Linked DNA regions of Homo sapiens: all the other regions are linked to region 1. Evidence: promoter capture Hi-C in 16 types of primary human blood cells and fetal thymus (Javierre and others, 2016). All regions are on one chromosome and are shown on one strand. The core of a region is centred on a gene start or on the middle of the fragment in contact, and the rest is flanking DNA. Distances in the headings are between cores, read along the strand shown. Region 1 has its middle 44 kb from the start of N4BP3. Region 2 holds the start of SLC34A1 (solute carrier family 34 member 1). Region 3 holds the start of DBN1 (drebrin 1).

The links. Contacts are between HindIII fragments. The CHiCAGO score rates a contact against its expected background, and 5 or more counts as called.
Region 2: the fragment with the promoter of SLC34A1 here is called in contact with a fragment that was not itself captured in region 1 in 1 of 17 cell types (total B cells); the score reaches 6.4 in total B cells.
Region 3: the fragment with the promoter of DBN1 here is called in contact with a fragment that was not itself captured in region 1 in 1 of 17 cell types (total B cells); the score reaches 5.0 in total B cells.

What each region holds. Positions count from the first base shown.
Region 1 is chr5:178,067,344-178,071,250 of GRCh38, forward strand. No RefSeq gene overlaps it. Among named protein-coding and RNA genes, the nearest start is that of N4BP3, 44 kb to the right of the region's middle. RefSeq lists a silencer at 1,197-1,276. The HindIII fragment of the contact is 4,078 bases long and covers 1-3,848 here.
Region 2 is chr5:177,382,764-177,386,670 of GRCh38, forward strand. SLC34A1 (solute carrier family 34 member 1) reads left to right here and starts at 1,671. Exons shown (of 13, transcript NM_003052.5): 1 at 1,671-1,724; 2 at 2,932-3,087; 3 at 3,224-3,373; 4 at 3,458-3,586; 5 at 3,660-3,803. The coding sequence starts at 2,979. The HindIII fragment of the contact is 19,795 bases long and covers 1-3,907 here.
Region 3 is chr5:177,471,495-177,475,401 of GRCh38, forward strand. DBN1 (drebrin 1) reads right to left here and starts at 2,140. Exons shown (of 15, transcript NM_001363541.2): 1 at 1,942-2,140. The coding sequence starts at 2,027. RefSeq lists enhancers at 998-1,501, 1,502-2,003 and silencers at 1,152-1,338, 1,258-1,627, 1,658-1,857, 1,938-2,317, 2,328-2,377. The HindIII fragment of the contact is 11,570 bases long and covers 1-3,907 here.

The DNA of each region.
Region 1 (3,907 bases), core at 560-3,059:
AATCATCCCACCCCTTCAGAAGGGGCTCAGATCTGGGAGGAAAAGGGCTCCCAGTGTGGGGCACTGTCACCCTCCACAGGCCACAGAGGACCCTCCTGGGATGGGGAAAGAGATGGGTGGGCTGGGTGGGGAGACTGTTTTCTGGTCACACCTGTTGCTCCCCATTCTACCTCCCCCCACTTGAATACAGACAAGGAGACCTCTTGCTAGAAAAGTGACATCATGGCAGGGCATGGTGGGTCACACCTGTAATCCCAGCACTTTGGGAGGCCAAGGCGGGCAGATCACTTGAGGTCAGGAGTTCAAGACCAGCCTAGCCAACATGGCGAAACCCCATCTCCACTAAAAATACAAAAATTAGACTGGCGTGGTGGCGTGCACCTGTAATCCCAGCTAGTCAGGAGGCTGAGGCACAAGAATCGCTTGAACCCGGGAGGCGGAGGTTGCAGTGAGCTGAGATTGTGCCACTGCACTCCAGCTTGGCTGACAGAGCGAGACTCTGTTTCAAAAAAAAAAAAAAGTGACTGTAAAAGTTACATGCCCATAAATCTCCATGCTACAAGCCAGGGAAACAGCAAGAGGCCATGTGCAGATGGGAGTGGCCCCTTCCCACTCCCAAGATCAAGAGCTCCTTATGCATCCACCAGCTTGTAATCACTTGCTTCTTCTCACAGACGTTCCTGAGAGGAGACTTCCCACCAGCCTGACATATTGTCGGGGAGAAAGTCACTTCCCAACCTTGCTTTAGGCCAGTGTTTACTGAGAGACAGGCATGTGCCTCAGAAGGGAGAAAACTTCCTCCCAAAACATGTTAGTATATAAGTATCTTCCAGCCAATTTCTTTCCTTTGAAAAAACCTTACTGGCCAAAATTTTTCAAAATAAAAAAATTGGGGAGAGGAAGATTCTAAGACAGTGGAGTAGCAAGTTCCAGAAATCTGTCTCTTCACCTAGACAACAATTGCGCCGGCAGAATCTGTCTGATGTGACTATTTTGGCACTCTGGAGTCTATTGACGGCTTCCAACTGTGGCTAATTTGGGTCAATTTCAGCTCTCAGCAGGCAGCAGCCACCCATCTCCCATCCCATGCCCCTGGCAGGCAGCTGTGCACATGTTCCTGGAGCAGCTTGCAGACAGCTGGTGGGTGGGAGCCGGGTGAACAAAAAGGACCCTGTCCTCCAAATACGGGAGGTCTGTGCTCTGCTCACTGATTGCTGCTTCTGATCACTGAGGTGCAAAGAGGTGGTGGTTATTGTGGTTGCACCTGCCCCCAATGTTACAAGCCCTTCCCCCTCTGACTGAAGTGACTTCCAGAGGATTTAAGGACTGTGGGCCTGCCCCCACCTGGTTCACATTTCTCTTTCTCCCCTCTTGGGAGGCAGACATTGAAGACCAGAACATTCTAAAGCAACTGCATATATTGGGGAAATTAGAGAGTCACCATGTGTGCCCCAGGGAAGACGCACGTTCAGAGAAGACTTGAGAAAACCTTAAGTTTATAGCTCTGGCTGATCATTGGCACAGAGACAGACTACAAAGATTAATTTAAAAAAAAAAAAAGTCTGGCCGGGTGTGGTGGCTCACACCCATAATCCCAGCACTTTAGGAGGCCAAGATGGGTCGATCACCTGAGATCAGGAGTTTGAGACCAGCCTAGCCAATATGGTGAAACCCTGTCTTCTACTAAAAGTACAAAACTTGGCTGTGCATGGTGGTTCACGCCTGTAATCCCAGCACTTTGGGAGGCTGAGGCTGGTGGATCGCCTGAGGCCAGGAGTTCAAGACCAGCCTGGCTAATGTGGCGAAACCCCATCTCTACTAAAATTTAAAAAATTAGCTGGGCATGGTAGCACGTGCCTGTAATCCCAGCTACTTGGGAAGCTGAGACAGGAAAATTGCTTGAACCCAGGAGGCAGAGGTTGCAGTGAGCTGAGATCATGCCACTGCACTCTAGCCTGAGCGACAGAGGAAGACTCCATCTCCAAAAAAAAAAAAAAAATTATCCAGGCATGGTGGTGAACACCTATAGTCCCAGCTACTCTGAGAGATGAGGCACAAGAATTGCTTGAACCTGGGAGGTGGAGGTTACAGTGAGCCAAGATCCAGCCACTGAACTCCAGCCTGGGTAACAGAGTGAGACTCTGTCTCCAAAAAAACAAAGAAAGAAAACAGATTGAAGAGGCCAGGCACAGTGGCTCATGCCTGTAATCCCAACACTTTGGGAGGCTGAGGCGGGTGGATCACTTGAGGTCAGGAGTTCAAGACCAGCCTGGCCAACATGGTGGAACCCAGTCTCTACTAAAAACACACAATTATCCAGGTGTGGTGGTGTGTGCCTGTAGTCCCAGTTACTCGGGAGGCTGAGGCAGGAGATGGAGGTTGCAGTGAGCTGAGATCGTGCCACTACACTCCAGCCTGTGTGACAGAGGCAGACTCCCTCTCAAAAAAAAAAAAAATTGAAGAAAACTGAACAGAGTCTATAGGATCTGCGAGACACCATCAAGCAGACCAACATACACATCGTGGGGGCCCCAGAAGTGCATACGTGTCTGTAAGTAGTGTTTTCCCAGCATGACTTGGAGGAAACCCTGCCTTTCTGGCTTAGGCTCGGCCACAGCCATCTATGTGAGACCAACCCAGAAACACTGGCGCCTTGGGGAGACAGTGAGCCTGGTGGAGGGACACTCTGGTTGGGAACTGGACAGCCCCAGTTCTGCAAATAACTGCATGTGCTTGTGAGACCGACTCACCCCACCAATCCTCTCTTCCTCATCTGTGAAAGAGGCGGAACACCAGCACCCCCCTCTGGCAGTGTGAAGGTTTCAGTAGGGGACACATCGTGGAGGATGGCTGGGATTTGCTCACACCACTGCTTAGATGAGCAGAAAAGATGTGTCCAAGTGAATCTTCTTCCCAAGGCATGGGTGCTTGTGGGGGTGGGGGGTGCCAAGACTTCAACTTAGCATCTCAGTCTCTTCTGAGTTTCTTTTAAAGTCCAACTTTGAACCTAGAGATGTGTAAACAGAATCTTGTGAAAGACGATGTCTTTCAGATGAATGTTCTATCATTTGGATGGAAATGATATTGAATCCCCCTCCTTGTGCAAATGAGCCCTGTGTATGTATGTGTATGTGTATGTGTATGTGTATGTATGTGTATGTGTATGTGTATGTGTATGTGTATGTGTATGTATGTATGCGTGTGGGGGTGGGGGGTACTTAGGTGACATGTGCAAGGACAGAAGGCCCAGGGATGCCCTGAGGTTCATGCCATCCTCCACAGTGGAGGGTCTGGTTTGGTCTGGCCTTGGACAAGTGACTGCCATGGGGTGACCGGTCCCATTTGGTCTGTGGGCCACTGCTGCAGTCTCTGGTTCCAGCCATTTGCCTGTGATCATGGAGGCCACACATCTTGGAGCCCATGTGTCCTCACCCCAGGCCTCCACTGGCCCCTCAGCACTCCATGTCTTCCCATGGGGCCTGTAGGAACTTCTGCAGGCCTCAGCCAGGCCATGGGCTGCTGGGAGCCCTGCCTCGGGCTCATCTCTCTGCTGCTTCCTTCTGCCCTACCTACTGTCATTCCTGCACCCTGCTGTGAAAGGCTTCTCCACATGCACCTGCAGACCCTGGGGGCCCTGGGGTTCCCTGAATCCATCTGGATCTATCAGGCATTCCCCCATTGTAGTTTCAACTTGCAAATGAAGCCAACAGTACATGCACCCTGGCCCTCGCTGCTCTCTTTGCCCCTCTTCTTCTTCCCTCATTTTGTGGGCAGGAGAAAGGGGCCTCCTGGACCACATCCCCCTCTTCCCAGGAGACTTGGTGGGATTTCTCTACACCATGGAAAAAAGCTTTATGATTTGGTCCAGTGGTCTTTAAACGTTGTGCTCACTGGTAGCTCACGGAGG
Region 2 (3,907 bases), core at 421-2,920, 680 kb before region 1:
AGCCAACTGCTCGTGCCAGAGGCCGCTCAGAAAGCCTGAGCAGACGGAGCTTGGCACCTTCCCTCCAAAACAGCTCCTCCTGCTGGGTTCCTTTCTCAACGCGAGACACCCCCAACCAGGCAGGCTCTCAGCCCAGAAAAGGTCTGGGGAGGCCATGGCCAGAGCCCAGGTGCACAGACAAGGTGGGACTCACCACCCAGGGGGACACACAGACTCTGTCACTGGCCAGGGAGGAGGCAGGCAGTAGGCAGGGAGGTGCTGAAATGGCAGAGAGGCTGGCAAGAGATACGTTGGTGCTGGAATGGAGCTGCCTTCTCTGCTGCTTGTATGAGTCCCAACAGCAGCTCTGGTCAGATCCAGCATTTTCTCACTTTCACTAGGGCTGTAGCCCCAAAATAAATCTTTAGAAGTGGTGGCTGTGTAAATCAGCAGCATTTTGGAATTATATCTCTTGATGGATTTGATCGATAGCTAACTGCCTCCCCCACTAAACCCAGAGCTCCGTGACAGCAGGGAAGGCAAACTTCAAAAATATCAAAAAGCACAACCTTATTAAAAAGGAGAAACACCCCCAGTTCACCAGGAGCACCTTGGATTCAGCTGCTCCTGCCAAGGGTCTGAACTGCACGGGGGAATGGAGAGAAACAGGTCACGTGGGCCGGGGTCTCTGGGCCCGCTGTGGGGGTGTCAGTTTGCTCATAGGTGGAGACACTCGATGTGACATTAACAGCACCTTCAAGCCCAAGGACCCAGAGATTCTGACACAAGAACTGAGAACTGATTGCATTTCCGTGACTCAGCGACACCCTCCTACCTGGGCATGAACCCAGCCCTAGCCAAAGATCCAGAGACCCGACTCCCATCTATTTCCTTTTCCTCTCTCCCTCCCCGTCACCAATTCTACTGGTCAGATGTCCCTGGGATGCACCTGTCCTCCCCAGCCCCTCCGTTCCCATCGGAGTTCAGGCCTCATCATCTCCTGCCTGGACCATTAGCCTCTTAACTGGCCCCTCCGCTTCCAGGCTCCCTTCCATATATCCGGGTTCCACCCCGGGGGCCATTCTAAAAGGCAGATCAGGCCCATCCCAGTCTGGCCAGCGGCTCCACATTCACTCAGACTCACATCCTGGACCCATGGTCGGGCATTAGAGACCTGCCACGATTCAACATTCCACGGCCTTTCCAGCTTAGGTCCTCATCTCACACTCCCTCTCCTCTGAGCTCCCCCTGGGAGACTTACAGACACCCCGACGCTTGGCAAGGCCATAGGATGTTTTTGTTTGGTTTGGTTTGGTTTTTCTGAGACAGTCTCACTCTGTCACCCAGGCTGGAGTGCAGTGGCACGATCTTGGCTCACTGCAACCTCCGAAGGCCATAGGATGTTTGGGTCATTCCCTGGGGAGTCCTGTCAGGCCAGGAACGAGGGGACCCTGGGAACAAGGTGCTGAGTGGCATCAGGGTCTCTGCCTGCAGGCGGGGGATGTGTCTGGGTCGTGGTTGATGGGAAGAACCTGACCATAGATTCCCCATGCAGAGCTGACGATTAGCAATTAACTGGGAGGAATCTCAGGGGTGAGGTTAATTGGGGGACAGAGGGAGGGCAGCTAGGGTTCCAGGGACTTTGCCCTTGACCCAAGAGTATAAAGAGGAGGGTCTCAGTTCTCCTCAGGGTCCTGGAGGCTTCATTGAGCTGCTGAGCAGAAGCTGAAACACAGAATTCTAAGGTGAGCCCAGGACCCTCACATCCCAACCCCACCCCCAGCTCTGAGTAGGAAACAGCCCAGCACCCCAGCCCCTTCATCTGTGTCCTATCTGCGCCCACCCCCACCGCGCCCCATATAACATGTCAGTCCAGCCAATCGCGGTGGCTCCCACCTGTAATCCCAGCACTTTGGGAAGCCGAGTGGGCGGATCACCTGAGGTCGAGTTTGCACTAAAAATACAAAAAATTAGCCAGGTGTGGTGGCAGGCACCTGTAATCCCAGCTACTTGGGAGGCTGAGGCAGGAGAATCGCTTGAACCCACGAGGCAGAGGTTGCAGTGAGCCAAGATTGTGCCACTGCACTCCAGCCTGGGCGGTAAGAGTGAAACTCCATCTCAAAAAAAAAAAAAAAAAGGACTCCTGCTCCTTCAGGACTTGAATTCAACTCTTCACACCCCTACAACAGCCAAGGACGCTGGGACAATGCGGGGAGTGCTGAGGCAGATCAGGGCACTCCACCCCAATAGCCAAGACTCCTGGGGCAGTGCGGGGACAAGGGGGGGCTGAGGCAAGCCTGTCAGTGTTTGTTCATTGCCCCTTGAGGGGGTGGATGGGGAAAGGAATTCATTGTGAGGGGAACCCAGGAACTCGGGATCCGGCCCAGGGGATCTCCGTGTGTGCCCAGCTGACCCCATGAGAAGGCAGGTGTCTGCAGCTCCTCCTTGCTCTCCAGGTGGGCAAAACTGAAGCCCGGCCCAGCCCCAGCCCACACCTGCAGCCACTGCCAACACCACGTATTCCCTGGCCCCCTCCAGCCCCAAACAGGCTGGGCGTCCTCAGTTCTCAGTGTCTTTTATCAATGCTATATCCAAGCCTCTGGTTCGGAGCCTGGGCTAGAGCTCAATAATACTCATTGAATGAGTGAATGGTGAATGAATGATCACCTCACCACCACCACACACACCCCTCCGAGACTCACATGCAGGTGCCCAGCACAGATGTGCACATGTGAGTCTGCATGTGAGTCTCGGAGGGCTGTGGTGGTGATGATGGAGGGTGTGGTTTGCTGGGTGTGTGTTTGTGCGTGTGAGTCTCGGAGGGGTGTGTGTGTGTGGTGAGGATGGAGGGTGTGCTTTGCTAGGTGTGTATTTGGAATCATGCGCCATGGGGGTTTGTGCAGGTGAGGGTGTGTGGGCATGAGTGTCCCGGACACAGCTATTGTCATTCAGCGTTGCTGAGACCCACTGACCTGCAGACCTCATAGTGGGTGCCCAGGATGTTGTCCTACGGAGAGAGGCTGGGGTCCCCTGCTGTCTCCCCACTCCCAGTCCGTGGGGGGCATGTGATGCGAGGGACGGCCTTTGCCTACGTGCCCAGCCCTCAGGGTAAGTGCTGCTCCCACACCCTGGACCCTGGTTGCCCACGGTTGCCCACATCCCGGATGAGGCCACTTCCCCCGCCTGTTCCTCCCCGCCTCCCCACTTTGGGGCCCTGGGGCTCCTGACCAGGCTCCCTCCCTAGTCCTACACAGGATCCCGGGGACCTCTGCCTATGCCTTCCCCAGCCTGGGCCCTGTGGCCCTTGCTGAGCACACCTGCCCCTGTGGGGAGGTCCTGGAGCGCCATGAACCACTGCCTGCCAAGCTGGCCCTGGAGGAGGAGCAGAAGCCAGGTGGGCCTGGGCTGGGGGTGGCAGAGGCGGCAGCAGTCCCTGCCCTGGCCTCTGCCCACTATGCTCATGGCTTCCCCCATCCAGAGTCCAGGCTGGTCCCCAAGCTGCGCCAGGCTGGCGCCATGCTGCTCAAGGTGCCACTGATGCTCACCTTCCTCTACCTCTTCGTCTGCTCCCTGGACATGCTCAGCTCGGCCTTCCAGCTGGCTGGAGGTAGGGCCCGGGTGGAGGAGACCTGGGAGGGGTTCCTGAAGGGCCTTGGACAACGCTGGCTCATGCTCCCCAGGGAAGGTGGCTGGTGACATCTTCAAGGATAACGCCATCCTGTCCAACCCGGTGGCCGGGCTGGTGGTGGGGATCCTGGTGACCGTGCTGGTGCAGAGCTCCAGCACCTCCACATCCATCATCGTCAGCATGGTCTCCTCTGGCTGTGAGTTGGCCCACCAGGGTGGGGAAGAGCTTGGAGGGGCACCCCAGGAGCTGGGAAGGGTGGCAAATGGGGAGCGTGACCCCAGTAAGGCTGGCCTCCATTCA
Region 3 (3,907 bases), core at 890-3,389, 600 kb before region 1:
GACAGCAATTTACCCAAGACACCCCTCCCTCTGGACCTATGTGCAGGGTCTGCCTCTGAGTCTTCAGACCTCACTGCACCCCTGGTTCCATGCTGGGCCCTGGGGTATTCATATTCTCTTGTGTAGAAAGTGATCCTCACACCCCTTTTTCAAAATGTTATCTGGGCCCTTAGTGAACGAATGTGTGCATGTGCGAGGGTACATGTGTGCATCTGTGTGTGTCCCACACACAACCCAGATGGGGGCTGACGCACACCAGTGATGAATAACTCGCTTTGGCCACACGGATGCTGCTGGGGTGGGTGGGGGCAGGCCTGTGTTGAGCAGGATGTGGGGCAACAGGGGTTGTGTGGCCTTGGCAATAGGCCACCAGAGCTCTGCTTTTAGGAGAAAATGGGGTGTTGGTAGACAACACCCCTCCAGGCTGGAGGGCAAAGGAGGTGTTCTGGGGTGAGCTGTGCTTCTCCCCAGGCGGGGCCTTATCCCAAAGCCAGCTCCTTCACCAGGCCAAGCCGGCCACTTGCCCAGAGCTCCTCCCATGATCTCAGCCCCCCTGGGGCAGGGCTGGGACAATGGGTGGGCCGCCTGCCTGCTGAGCCTGTGCCGGCCTCTCCTGTGACTGACCTGCAGGACACGAGAGCTTGTCTCTCGCGTCCATCCCTCCAGGCCTGGCTGCTGGCCAGTGCTGCAGTACCATGCCATGGATGCCCAGCCATCTCATCCTCTCCTCCAGAAGCCCCCAGGTCAGAGTCCCCACCTGGCTGCCCTCCCAGTGTGCGGGTGAGGCCAGCCCAAGCGGGGTCCCTCAGACCTGCCCTCCTCTTTGCCTCAGTTTCCTCAAGAAGAACCTGTTCCCATCTGCCAGCAGGGAGAGGAGGCCTAGGAACCAGATGGGCACCTTCCCTAGAAGAAGAGTATTACGGGGGGGTTAAAGGATTCCAGGATGGGGCTGTGAGGAACCCCTCGGTTTCCTTTTTCCACCACCCTGGGCCGCCAGCCCCAGAGCAGGTGGTCCATCCCCTCCCCCAGCTCAGCGGGAGACAACAGCTGGGGGGCGGGGTGAGGGGCGGCCCAGCTCCTCCCCCATCAGGGACCGAGTGCCCCTTGCTGGGGGCCGGTGGATCTGTTCACCCCTTCAGCCGTCTTTGGGGGCTCCCTCCACACTTGTTCTCCAGAGGGCTTCCTCCCAGGGATCTCAGCTGGCCCCTTAGGCAGCTCGGTGCCCCCCAGCCCAGCTGCCTAGTCCCCGCAGTCCCCTTCAGGTAGGGGAGGAGAGCTCACCCCTGCCTCCTCCGCGACCCGCGGCGGTAAGGGAGTCACTTCGCGGTCGCCATGTGGCAGCAAACATCCTTCCACCTCACTCCAGCCCAGGTTTCGGGGGGAGGGCGGCCCACTCCGAGAGGCCCCCCGGTGGGCGGGGCGCCCGGCCCCCAGCCCGCTCCGCTCCTCCCCCGCCCTCGCTTTCCTTTGTGCTGTGGCCGGGCCGGGCTGAGCCGGGCAGGCTGCGCTGGCTCCGCTAGCTCGGTCCCCGCCCCGTCCCCGCCCGGACCTCGCCCGCTCGAAGGTGGCGAAGGTGCCCTTGGCCGCCCCGTGCACACCTGTCCCCCGGGCCCGGGGGGTAGGGTGGGGGATGGGCTCCCGCAGGGCCACGCGGCCCCGGGCCCCACATCGGGACCCCGCGCCTCCGGGCCGCGTCCGGCCGCCGCTCCCACCGCGCGCCTTGGGCCGCCTCCGGGCGCTCGGGGCCCGGCAGTGCCCCGCCTGGCCCGCCGGCCCCTCCCCCGGCGCGCACAAAGGCAGCCCCTCCCGGCCCTCCCGGCCCGCTGCACCATTTCGGGGTCCCCCTCCCTTCCCGGCGGCGGGGCGGCGGGGCGGGAGAGAAACAAAGGCGCGGCGGCGGCGCGGGGACAAAGGGGCCGGGGGCGGGGGCGGGGGGCTCACCAGTCGGCCGCGCTCTCCTCTCGGATCACCTCCTCGTAAGCCGCCAGCAGCTCCAGGCGGTGGCCGCTGAAGCTGACGCCGGCCATGCTTCGGGCCGGACCGGGCCGAACGGACAGACGCGCGGACGGACGGGCGGACGGAGGAGGAGGGAGGGAAAGAGGGAGTCGCCGCCGCCGCCTCGGAGCCTCTGCAGCGTCGCGAGCCGAGCGAGCCAGCGGCCGGGGGAGGGGAGCCGGCCGGCGGGGGGCGGGGGGCGCTGGCTCCGCCCGGCTCGCTCCCTCCGCTCGCTCGGTCCTAGCGCCGCCCCGGCCCGGCCCAGGGGGAGGCCCGCCCCCCCTTCCCGGCCTGCCCCGGGCGCCCCTCACCCACCGCCCCTGCGCGCCGCTCCAGGGCCAGCCCCACCCACGTCCCGAACCCTCACCTGCCCCGTCCGTAACCTCGGCGCTAGCCCTCCTTCCAGCCCCGAACCCAGTCCCGTCCCCACCTCCCCCCGCCCACCCCCCGTCCCAATCCGGTTCCGCCCCACCCATTGCTTCATTGATCTCCATTCCTGGTGCGTCCCACCTCATGTTAAACCCATTTTCATCCCAACCCAGCTCACACAACACCCCACCCCTGGCCCGTCTCCTTTCCCTGAGAGGTCCTTGCCTAGTCTATCCCATCATATCCACTGTCATCTGCATCCCACCCTCAAATCCACCCCAGTTGCTTTCCCATCCCAGCTTCAGCCCCATGCTTAGCACGTGTCCCCCCCAACATGTGTCACGGCACATCTTCAGTCCAACCCATCCCAGTCTCATCCTGATCCCAGTTCCCAATTCCCAACCACAGCCCCCCATCTCGGCTCCATGACCACTTATTCCAGGCCATTCTCAGCCCCTACCCAGCTCATTATCCCTCCATTCCAGGCCTCTCCTCCCCTCCACGCCTGTGCCCTCTCAGATGGGGCCAGCTAGGAGATCCTTTGCATTCTCTCTCAAGCCTCACGCCTCCCAGAGGAGTCCCAAGTAGAGTTCCGGAAGCAGCATCTAACCCCAGACTCCCACGGCAGGGCTCCTCCAAGGACGCTCAGGGCCAGCCTCTTGGCACCTTTATCTCCTAAAGCTCTAAGCACAGAACGGGAGGGGGCCTCAGAAAAGTACCCCCTGCAAGGGAGTGGACACCATGCCAGGGCCTTCCAGAACTCCGTTCCTTGCTAGGTTGGGACCCTGAAACCGTCCACAGCGCTTAGAAGCCTTTTCCACCACTACAAAGCCTCCAACCTCGACCTCCCTGAGCAAACTTCACCTGGTCCCAACCGCACCGCGGAGGAGGAGGTGGTTCTAGCCAGGCCTCCGAGTTCTGCGTTGGGTAATTGGCTATGCCAAGAGAAGGAGAGCAGGGCTGCCTATGTGGCAGTGTTCCTGGCGCTTTGGAGTTGGGAGAACCCTCTTAAAACTCAAAATACTCACAGGCCCCTGCCTTGGGAAGTCAGTGCCCACTATGTCTAGGGACCACAGGCCATGGCAATTTCTCCATGGCCACCACTAGAGTGAGGCACCCAGGCAGGGACACAGCCAGGCCCTGTGCCCTAGACCAACTGGCCAGTAGGTGTGGTTGGCCTGCCATGGGGATCCCTAAGGGAGTGGGTGACACATGGTGGGGAAGGGAAGTGGGGAGAGCCATGGAGGGACAGAGCTTCAGCCATCCCCCACCCTTAGGCATGAAGAGCCTGATTCTGGTGAGGAGGGAGACCCTGCAGCCGGGGAGGGGCAGCAGATGGCTGGCCATGAGCATCTGTGGCCTCAGCCTCTTCCAGCTTCCTTTGATTTGTCCTAGCTCACAGCTCCTCGCCCCCCCCGCTCCCCTCACCCCCCAGCCTCCTGCACACTCAATTTTGCATCCAAAAAACAGAAGCCCTAAATGCATCTAAGCTCTTCCTTCCTCAAATTCCTGCCTCCCCACCAGCCACCTACAAACTCTCCAG